Linked DNA regions of Homo sapiens: regions 2 and 3 are each linked to region 1. The links are contacts of gene promoters, found by promoter capture Hi-C in blood cells and fetal thymus (Javierre and others, 2016). All regions are on one chromosome and are shown on one strand. Each heading gives the region's core, a stretch centred on a gene start or on the middle of the fragment in contact. The rest is flanking DNA. Distances are from core to core; before and after follow the strand shown. Region 1 holds the start of HEMK2 (HemK methyltransferase 2, ETF1 glutamine and histone H4 lysine). Region 2 overlaps ADAMTS1 (ADAM metallopeptidase with thrombospondin type 1 motif 1). Region 3 overlaps APP-DT (APP divergent transcript).

Region 1 (3,459 bases), core at 895-3,394:
CAGTTCCTGAGAAGCTGGTTGTGATGCCACGGTCAGATTTTGTGAATATGGTGGAAAAAAGGAATTATTGACAAAACAAAGGTTGTGAGAAGTGCTTTACTGGATGCTGCTGGGGTGGCCTGTTAACTACAGCAGAAGTTGTAGTCAAAGAAATTCCTAAAAAAAGAGAAGGACCCTGTATTGGGTGCAATGGGTGGAACGGGAGGTGTTATGGGAAATGGCAAGTTCTAATGATTAGAATAGCGTTTTACTTTAATTAATGAACTGTGGCAGGAAGCCCAAGGCAGTATTCCTCACCAATAACTTCAGAGAAGTCAGCTGGAGAAAACGACTGAAGAAAAGGCTAGCAGATGTTTAGGAAATCACTATAACAATCAGTTACTGGTTTCAAGTGACAAAATATATAATGTTTTACTGCTGTCACTGTCCATGCCTACAGATAATTTATTTTGTATTTTTGGATAAAAAGACATTTGTATATTCCTAATACTGGGTGCGAGAGCACCTATGGTTCCAGTTCCAGCTACTCAGGAGGCTGAGGGAGGAGGATCGCTTGAACCCAGGAGATCAAGTACAACTCTTTCTATATATATATATTTTTCATATTTTTACATAATAAAATTCTATATGGCAGTTAAGAGGAGTAACCTAACCATATATCAAAACATAAATCTCATATAATGTTGACTGAAAAAGAAATTTGAAAAATATGTCCAACCTAGTACCAGTTATGTAAATTTTAAAATACACCGTATGTTGCTTATAAAGATATGAATGTTTATAAACGTATAAATACAAGATCCATGTTTTTACATGGATTAGATGGACATACACTAAATCCATAAGAGCCTTGGAGAGAATGTTACACAATTAAACTGAAGGCAAATAGAGAAAGAACATCCATCTTATTTGTAATATTTTAGTTCTTGTATTTAAAAAATATTTTAAGGAAACATGAGAAAATACTGTCATTTCTGGGTTTAAAACTTGGGGTTTTGAAATTTGTAACCCAGCCGGGTGCGTTAAAGGCTCACACCTGTAATCTCAGCACTTTGAGAGCCCAAGGCGGGTGGATCACCTGAAGTCAGCAGTTTGAGACCAGCCTGGCCAACATGGGGAAAATCCGTCTCTACTAAAAATACAAAAATTAGGCAGCCGTGGCTGCAGGCGCCTGTAATCCCAGCTACTCCGGAGGCTGAGGCAGGAGAACCGCTTGAACCTGGGAGGCAGAGGTTGCAGTGAGCCTAGCTCGCGCCACTGCACTCCAGCCTGGGGGATACAGCGAGACTCTGTCTCCAAAAAAAAAAAATACATAAGTAGAAATAAAATAAAATAAAATTTGTACCTCAAATACTTTTCTGTATTTTTATTTCTCAAATTTAAAAAACGAGCTGTAAAAATGTTTCATTGCGAAACAAATTTCAGAAATTGACTCAAAAAGAATGCAAATACTTGAATAGTCTAATAACTTACAGATGTTCCAAAACATCAAAGATCCATTCACTCAAAAAGGCACCAAGCCCAGCCAGTTTTAAGGCTTTCTACCTAATGTTCCAGAAACAGTGTCCTAACTCACATAACGAGGGTAGCGTAATCTTGGTAAAAAAAAACGGAGCCAGATTATTAGCCTCCCCAATTCAGCAGTGTATTAAACCGCATCATCTTGCTTAAGGTTTATAAAAAGAGTGCATTCATGATTCATCAGGAAGGCAATTTATAAAGTACAGTAAAAAAACGAGGAAAGTCTTCATCTTTATAGCGTAAAGCTTAAAGTTCAGCTGACAAAAAAACAGTAAAATTTATTATGTATTTTTTCAAATCCTTGCAAACTAGGAATAAAACAGAATTTCCAAATATCATTAGAATGAAGAAAGAACATTCACCTTAGTCAAAAACAACTCAGAATGCCCACTATCAGGTTCTAGTTCACAGAATAAAATTTAAATGTTCCAAAGAAGAAAGCAAATGTCAATAGTCACGGATTATACAACTGTCTACTTAGCAATTTCAAGGAGAGCCACTGACAAATTTAGAATTAAGACCCAACAACAACACACTGGTCGCCCGGGACGCCAGCCCCACTCCTAGGCCTGCGCATGAGGGTGAGGGCATGCGCATGCGCATGCGCACGCCCTGCGCACGCGCATGGAACGCAGCGAAGGACTATGGCAGGGGAGAACTTCGCTACGCCGTTCCACGGGCACGTGGGCCGCGGCGCCTTCAGCGACGTGTACGAGCCCGCGGAGGACACGTTTCTGCTTTTGGACGCGCTGGAGGCAGCGGCTGCCGAACTGGCAGGGTGCGAGGAGGGGAGGGGCTCTGACGGGAAAGGGTTGCGGCTTTCTGAAGAAGTGCGGTGGAGGAGGGCCGGAACGGTGACTATCACCGCCCTGAGCCGGAGCAGGCGGGGTCCACTTGCAGATGATTGACAGCCAGGACGCCGTAATTGAGAATTTTCCTGTAGCTACAAGTAATGAGTGTGCCGGGGACGCATCTCCTTTGCCAGGGGGCTGCTCTGTCTCATGAGCTCCCTGACTGCTTACCATGCAAAGGCGTATCTTTTCCTGTCGCCTGTTAATCTGAAGAACACATGTCCCTGAGAGAAGCGATAGTATAACACGTTTGGAAACAAAATATTCCGGAAACATTGCTTATTAATATTTTTAAAGTATTACATATTAAAATTGCATGGTATTATTTGATTTACTCAGCACATAGAAAGCACCCTTAACAAACATGAAAGAAAGTTGTGTTACTGGAGTGGGGAAATATTTTTAAACCCACTGAATAGCATACTCTAGCACCAGCCAGTCCTCACATGTGGCTACAGAGCGCTTGAAATGTGGCTAGTGCTATTGAGGAACTGAATTTTTCATTTAATTGTTACCAAAAAAAAGTTACATGCAGCTAGCAGACAATAGTCTACCCTAGCACTTTATTTAAATGGATTTATTGAAGTGATCGCCATCAATTTTAAATTAATAGCAGAAGGAATGAATACTGACATTGTGATTTTTAAATGTAAGGAATTTGGGTTGTTAGATTTGTTTGAAGATAAGATGAACTGGGTTTTCTCAGGATGGAACAAACAGCTTTCAGGTTTCAAAGATCTATATTGTATTTATTTATCCCTCTTAAACTTGGTCATATTTCTCCAGTATAAAATGTCCCAGCTCTTATTAAACTAGTCTTTCATTGTAGATGATGGAACTTTTGGATCTACTGGAATATACAGTGGAACAGTACTGTTTTATAACTTGTCTTTTCTTCTCAAGATAGCCCAGAAAGATTTACAAGCACAAATTGCACTGCAAAGTATGCTGTAAAAGGAGCTGATTTTGTTATAAAGTCTTGGGTTATTTCTAGTTTGGAATTCTAATTATTTATGAGACCATGATAGTTATTTTCAAAGAGAAGCCACCTGGTGAGATTCTCAGACCTTACTACCACCTAATAAAG
Region 2 (3,571 bases), core at 1-2,500, 2.0 Mb after region 1:
AACCTTTAGAGAGGAACAATGTGAAGCACACAACGAGTTTTCAAAAGCTTCCTTTGGGAGTGGGCCTGCGGTGGAATGGATTCCCAAGTACGCTGGCGTCTCACCAAAGGACAGGTGCAAGCTCATCTGCCAAGCCAAAGGCATTGGCTACTTCTTCGTTTTGCAGCCCAAGGTAGTTCGTTTTTACCTTATTTTTACCTAAAAATCAAGGCCTGGGCTTGCTACCTTTTCAAACAATTTTTGTTATACTTTCTTTGCTTTCCATATTAACATATCTTCAATTTCAAATTTGAACTCCTTTTCTTTTACATTAATTGGCAACTGCCTGCTTTGAGTTTAGTGTTTTCAGTTATGAATGAAGCTTAAATCTAACACTTCACATGCTTGCAATTGCTCGCTATTACTCTTTTATATGCAAAGAAAAGCTTTTTGGACAGTCAAGCGCTCCTCTGTGCGACTAGGCTTCACATACAGCTCATAGTTAGATACATTTTATATTCACACAGTAACCAGTAGTTTTGGAAAATAGTCTATGCATGGTCCAAAATACTTGTTACTGGGTAACTAGCAGTAGCAGGTGCAAACAGAATAATAGAAGTGGTAGTCTGAGTATTGATTATTTTTATGTTTGAAAACACATATTGAACTAGGAAAAGCATCATTTCTTTTGCTGTTTTGCTAAGGGAATACATCTGGATCTGAGACAGAAAATGGAATTTAATGTGATTGAGATGATCGTGTGTCATTAGCACCATAGGCTATGAAAATATTCCCAAGTTGCAGATTCAATATTCAGCAAGTGATTTCTGAAGCACTTACTCTTGCCAGATACTAATTATTCTAGGCTCTGAAGATACAGCAGTAAACAAAGTGACAAACAGCTCTACTTTCATTGACCTTAGCTGGAGGAGACATAGGTCAATAGATAAATAATTTTTAAAAATATCTAATTTCTTCAGATGTCTATACGTAGTACTGAAAAATATGCCAAAGTGAAGGGTAAATGCATGAAATGCATAATGTGTAGAGGGTACTGTGTTTAATTAGCATGGTCAGGAAAGTAGAGAGAAAATGTTTACACTTATCATTGCAGCATCTCCTTCCTTTGCTTGTATGTAACACTAGACATGTGTCCTTTTTTCAGGTTGTAGATGGTACTCCATGTAGCCCAGATTCCACCTCTGTCTGTGTGCAAGGACAGTGTGTAAAAGCTGGTTGTGATCGCATCATAGACTCCAAAAAGAAGTTTGATAAATGTGGTGTTTGCGGGGGAAATGGATCTACTTGTAAAAAAATATCAGGATCAGTTACTAGTGCAAAGTAAGTTTTAAAACACCTATTTGCAGACCTTATAATTTAAATGGGCCTTTCAACAGGTCTGGGAAAAAAATATGTCTCATAAAAGATTAATGTGTTTTTAAGCTAAATAATCTAATTAGCCAATGAATCAGAGATTTATGCCTGTTTTTGTCACCTGCAGACCTGGATATCATGATATCATCACAATTCCAACTGGAGCCACCAACATCGAAGTGAAACAGCGGAACCAGAGGGGATCCAGGAACAATGGCAGCTTTCTTGCCATCAAAGCTGCTGATGGCACATATATTCTTAATGGTGACTACACTTTGTCCACCTTAGAGCAAGACATTATGTACAAAGGTGTTGTCTTGAGGTACAGCGGCTCCTCTGCGGCATTGGAAAGAATTCGCAGCTTTAGCCCTCTCAAAGAGCCCTTGACCATCCAGGTTCTTACTGTGGGCAATGCCCTTCGACCTAAAATTAAATACACCTACTTCGTAAAGAAGAAGAAGGAATCTTTCAATGCTATCCCCACTTTTTCAGCATGGGTCATTGAAGAGTGGGGCGAATGTTCTAAGTCATGTGAATTGGGTTGGCAGAGAAGACTGGTAGAATGCCGAGACATTAATGGACAGCCTGCTTCCGAGTGTGCAAAGGAAGTGAAGCCAGCCAGCACCAGACCTTGTGCAGACCATCCCTGCCCCCAGTGGCAGCTGGGGGAGTGGTCATCATGTTCTAAGACCTGTGGGAAGGGTTACAAAAAAAGAAGCTTGAAGTGTCTGTCCCATGATGGAGGGGTGTTATCTCATGAGAGCTGTGATCCTTTAAAGAAACCTAAACATTTCATAGACTTTTGCACAATGGCAGAATGCAGTTAAGTGGTTTAAGTGGTGTTAGCTTTGAGGGCAAGGCAAAGTGAGGAAGGGCTGGTGCAGGGAAAGCAAGAAGGCTGGAGGGATCCAGCGTATCTTGCCAGTAACCAGTGAGGTGTATCAGTAAGGTGGGATTATGGGGGTAGATAGAAAAGGAGTTGAATCATCAGAGTAAACTGCCAGTTGCAAATTTGATAGGATAGTTAGTGAGGATTATTAACCTCTGAGCAGTGATATAGCATAATAAAGCCCCGGGCATTATTATTATTATTTCTTTTGTTACATCTATTACAAGTTTAGAAAAAACAAAGCAATTGTCAAAAAAAGTTAGAACTATTACAACCCCTGTTTCCTGGTACTTATCAAATACTTAGTATCATGGGGGTTGGGAAATGAAAAGTAGGAGAAAAGTGAGATTTTACTAAGACCTGTTTTACTTTACCTCACTAACAATGGGGGGAGAAAGGAGTACAAATAGGATCTTTGACCAGCACTGTTTATGGCTGCTATGGTTTCAGAGAATGTTTATACATTATTTCTACCGAGAATTAAAACTTCAGATTGTTCAACATGAGAGAAAGGCTCAGCAACGTGAAATAACGCAAATGGCTTCCTCTTTCCTTTTTTGGACCATCTCAGTCTTTATTTGTGTAATTCATTTTGAGGAAAAAACAACTCCATGTATTTATTCAAGTGCATTAAAGTCTACAATGGAAAAAAAGCAGTGAAGCATTAGATGCTGGTAAAAGCTAGAGGAGACACAATGAGCTTAGTACCTCCAACTTCCTTTCTTTCCTACCATGTAACCCTGCTTTGGGAATATGGATGTAAAGAAGTAACTTGTGTCTCATGAAAATCAGTACAATCACACAAGGAGGATGAAACGCCGGAACAAAAATGAGGTGTGTAGAACAGGGTCCCACAGGTTTGGGGACATTGAGATCACTTGTCTTGTGGTGGGGAGGCTGCTGAGGGGTAGCAGGTCCATCTCCAGCAGCTGGTCCAACAGTCGTATCCTGGTGAATGTCTGTTCAGCTCTTCTGTGAGAATATGATTTTTTCCATATGTATATAGTAAAATATGTTACTATAAATTACATGTACTTTATAAGTATTGGTTTGGGTGTTCCTTCCAAGAAGGACTATAGTTAGTAATAAATGCCTATAATAACATATTTATTTTTATACATTTATTTCTAATGAAAAAAACTTTTAAATTATATCGCTTTTGTGGAAGTGCATATAAAATAGAGTATTTATACAATATATGTTACTAGAAATAAAAGAACACTTTTGGAATGTGTGTGTCTGTTTTTTGAAGTGGGAATTCATTCCTAGGAAGGAAACCTGAGGCACAAATATTGAATCTGAAGACCGAATTATTTTCTTAAATTATTT
Region 3 (3,719 bases), core at 1,021-3,520, 2.7 Mb after region 1:
AAAATGTGAGAATAATTTTAGGGGAATTTTAGAGGTTTGGTTATAGACTTATGTTCCCCCAAAATTCATATGTTGAAGCCCTAACCCCCAGTACCTTAGAACATGACTGTATTTGGGTAGGGCCTTTGAAGAGCTAATTAAATTAAGGCCACTGGCGTGGGCCCTAATATAATCTGGCTGGTATTCTTGTAAGAGGAGGAGATTAGGACACACAGAAATACCAGAGGTACCTGTGCAGAGGAAAGAACGTGTGAGGACTTAGCAAGGGTGCAGCCATCTGCAAGCCAAGGAGACCTCTGAGGATTCCAATCCTATCTGCATCTTGATCTTAGACTTTTCTGGAACTGTGAGAAAATAAATTTCTTGGTTTAAGCCACCCAGTCTGTGATATTTTGTTATGGCAGCTCTAGTAAACTAATACAGATTTTAAATGTCATTAAATGTCAATGTTTAAGCTTTGACAAAATTTTCTAAAGGAAAGTATAAAAGGTCATTTTCTTTCTTTTCAGAGCCTGATGATTGCGGGAGGGGTAAGCCAGCTGCATGGGGATCATGATGCAATGCTGATGCAGGACAGACAGAAAGTAGATCTCTTCCATTTCTATTTTTTTTTTTTCTGTTGAGTTGAATGATCTTCAGACTGAAAATGAAAGAAAGGTCACTGGAAATAAAGGCCAAAGATGAGTGACAGGATTATAGAATAAGTCTTAGCTGTTCTAAAGAAGGACATATTATGTACCCCCACCCCCAAATTCATATGTTGAAGTCCTAACCCGACAGTGTCTCAAAATGTGACCATATTTGGAGATAGGGTCAAAGATGTAATTAAGGTTAAATGAGGTCATTAGCATGGATCCTAACCCAATATCTGCTGTCCTTATAACAAGAGGAGATTAGGGCACAGTAAGACACAGAGGGAAGACCATGTGAGAATACAGGGAGAAGGTGGCCATCTGCAAGCCAAGGAGAGAGGCCTCAGAAGTAACCAACTCAGCCAACACCTCGATTTCAGACTTCCAGCCTCCTGAAATGTGAGGAAATACATTTCTGGTGTTTGATCCATCCAGTCTATGGTAAGTTATGGCACCCCTGCAGGGTTCATCTGGCTCAGACTTAACGATTGCTTTTGGTGATATTTATAGGGCACAGATAACAGCCTAAACACAAGACGACAGAAACGCGGCCCAGCAGACTATGCATAAAATAGAAATGGGGTATCTGGACCAATTGGAGTCTGCAGTGGGATGCGGTTACTAAAACAGTCAAATGCAACATGAGGCTCCAGGCAGAGTAGTGGGCAACATCTCCCATGTTGCAGCAGTCAGAGCACACTTCGAGTACTGTAAAAAGACACAGACAAGCCAGAACACATTTAGAGAATGGCCAAGGTGTGGAAGGAACCAGAAACCATGCCATTATGCAACTGTTGAAGGAAGTGCCTGTTTTACCTTGTGAAGAGAAGACTCTAGAGGAAGAAGTAGCATGAAAACCGCTGGCAAATTTGTAAAGATCTGAAGTGTGGAAAAGAATTATTCTGCTTGGTCACTGGGGATACAAGGATATCTGAGTGGGAGTTTAAAGGCGGGGGATGTGAGCTTTAAATGGGATAAGAACATTCTAGTAACCAGAAATGCCCAAAGATAGAATGCACAGTCTGGAGAGCCAGTGAATATCTCACAAATGGAGACACTTGAAACTAGGATGGGGATGCTGTTGTAGGAATTCCAGCAGACAAGTGGTTGTTGGTTCCTTCCCCAACTTTGTAGGGTTATAACTAGGGATGTTCCTGCGTTTTCTGCTTGGAGGATCTGCAAGACACCTCAGGGCAGGAAATGGCATTAAATGCAGAACAGAGCTAGTGGCTGAAAAGCAAAAAGCCATCAGGATCTCTGAGTAGTGAAGGAACCAGAGAACATGCAGGCAATGTCCATCATTCTGACGCAATCAGCAGCATAATCATCTTCCCCCAGGAACATCTTGACCAGGGAATGTGTCAGTGTGGTGAATTTCAACAGTGGAAAGAGAAACTGCTAAATCTAAGAACTTTAATTTTTATAGATTATGATCTCATCTCTACAATTTTGAATTTCATGCTCAATAAAAGTTCCTTACTCTCTTTTTTTTTTTTTGAGACGGAGTCTCGCTCTGTCGCCCAGGCTGGAGTGCAGTGGCGCGATCTCGGCTCACTTCAAGCTCAGCCTCCCGGGTTCACGCCATTCTCCTGCCTCAGCCTCCCCAGTAGCTGGGACTACAGGCGCCCGCCACGACGCCCGGCTAATTTTTTGTATTTTTAGTAGAGACGGGGTTTCACCGTGTTAGCCAGGATGGTGTTGATCTCCTGACCTCGTGATCCGCCCGCCTCAGCCTCCCAAAGAAAAGTCCCTCACTCTTAAAGTTGCCTCCTCCTTCCCAGGGCTGGCTTCATGGGCATGCAACCCTGGAGAGTCTCACAGGCCCTGCGGTGGGAGGAGCCCCATGCTTGGTTTAACGCTCTGCCATTGCCATCTTAAAATTCTTAATTTAATTTTTTTTCTTTTTTTTGAGGTGGAGTCTCGCTCTGTCGCCCAGGCTGGAGTGCAATGGCACAATCTTGGCTCACTGCAACCTCCGCCTCCCAGGTTCAAGCGATTCTCCTGCCTCAGCCTCTGGAGTAGCTGGGATTACAGGCAGGAGTAACCACGCTCGGCTAATTTTTGCATTTTTAGTAGAGATGGGGGTTTCACCATGTTGGCCAGGCTGGTCTAGAACTCCTGACCTCAGGTGATCTGCCCACCTGGGCCTCCTAAAGTGCTGGGATTACAGGCATGAGCCACCAGGCCCGGCCTTAAAATTCTTAATAATGTAACAAAGGGTCTCACGTTTGCATTTTGCAGTGGACTCTGCAAGATTTGTAGCTTTGGACCACGTTTCTCTTTGCATTCAGATACCTTCTTTTTTGCCTTATTTGCTCATGCAGACCCGGAACAAATACGGAATTGCGGTGGGTAAATGTGGTGCAGAAAGTGAACAACTGGGTTTGTCCTGTCACTTTAGGCTTTTCCCTGCTGTCCCAGCTTCATGTCACTTACTTGCTATTAGATTTGGGAGTTCATTAGCTTCATTTTCCTGATGTATAAATAGGAATAATAGTAACAGCCTCTTTGGCTTTTGTAGGAAGTAAATGACATGAAGCGTATAAACAAATACTGCATGACAATAAATATTTGTCCTTATTTGTTGAGGACATCCAAAGGACATTCAGGGGCAAAAGTAATCCAAGAGTCAAGACTGAATGCCTAGTGCGGGAAAAGACACACAAGACAACATTTAGGGGAGCTGGTACAGAAATGACTTCCCAGGAAGGAAGTCTGTACCCCGCTGGCTGAGCCATCCTTCCCGGGCCTAGGCACCCTTGTCAGCGCAATGAGCAAGGGAGAGAAGGCAGGCTGCAGTGCAGCCCTCAGAAGGGCCAGAGCACTCCCTGGCTTCAGTCCTTCGCTCCAAGCCCTGTGTGGAGTGGGCTGTGGCTTGGTAACTAAATGCTACTTCAGGTCAAGAGCAGGGGATATATCTGGGCAGTTCTAGAGCATTCTAAACTATCTGGACACTAACTGGACAGTGGACGGTTTGTGTTTAATCCAGGAGAAAGTGGCATGGCAGAAGGTTCATTTCTATAATTCAGGACAGACACAATGAAGAACAAGGGCAGCGTTTGAGGTCAGAAGTCCTCATTTACGGGG

The links. The method cuts DNA at HindIII sites, captures the fragments that hold promoters and counts their contacts. A CHiCAGO score of 5 or more calls a contact.
Region 2: a fragment that was not itself captured here is called in contact with the fragment with the promoter of HEMK2 in region 1 in 1 of 17 cell types (fetal thymus); the score reaches 6.2 in fetal thymus.
Region 3: a fragment that was not itself captured here is called in contact with the fragment with the promoter of HEMK2 in region 1 in 1 of 17 cell types (total B cells); the score reaches 6.9 in total B cells.

What each region holds. Positions count from the first base shown.
Region 1 is chr21:28,884,052-28,887,510 of GRCh38, reverse strand. It overlaps HEMK2 (HemK methyltransferase 2, ETF1 glutamine and histone H4 lysine), which reads left to right and starts at 2,144. Exons shown (of 6, transcript NM_013240.6): 1 at 2,144-2,299. The coding sequence starts at 2,166. It also overlaps the pseudogene HSPD1P7. RefSeq lists enhancers at 1,727-2,285, 2,231-2,290, 2,286-2,845. The HindIII fragment of the contact is 10,284 bases long and covers 1,769-3,459 here.
Region 2 is chr21:26,836,188-26,839,758 of GRCh38, reverse strand. ADAMTS1 (ADAM metallopeptidase with thrombospondin type 1 motif 1) reads left to right here. Exons shown (of 9, transcript NM_006988.5): 7 at 1-172; 8 at 1,145-1,320; 9 at 1,481-3,571. The coding sequence ends at 2,180. Among named protein-coding and RNA genes, the nearest start is that of ADAMTS1, 7.4 kb to the left of the region's middle. The HindIII fragment of the contact is 1,646 bases long and covers 428-2,073 here.
Region 3 is chr21:26,171,619-26,175,337 of GRCh38, reverse strand. The region is part of intron 1 of APP-DT (APP divergent transcript); the gene reads right to left. Among named protein-coding and RNA genes, the nearest start is that of APP-DT, 2.6 kb to the right of the region's middle. The HindIII fragment of the contact is 3,625 bases long and covers 458-3,719 here.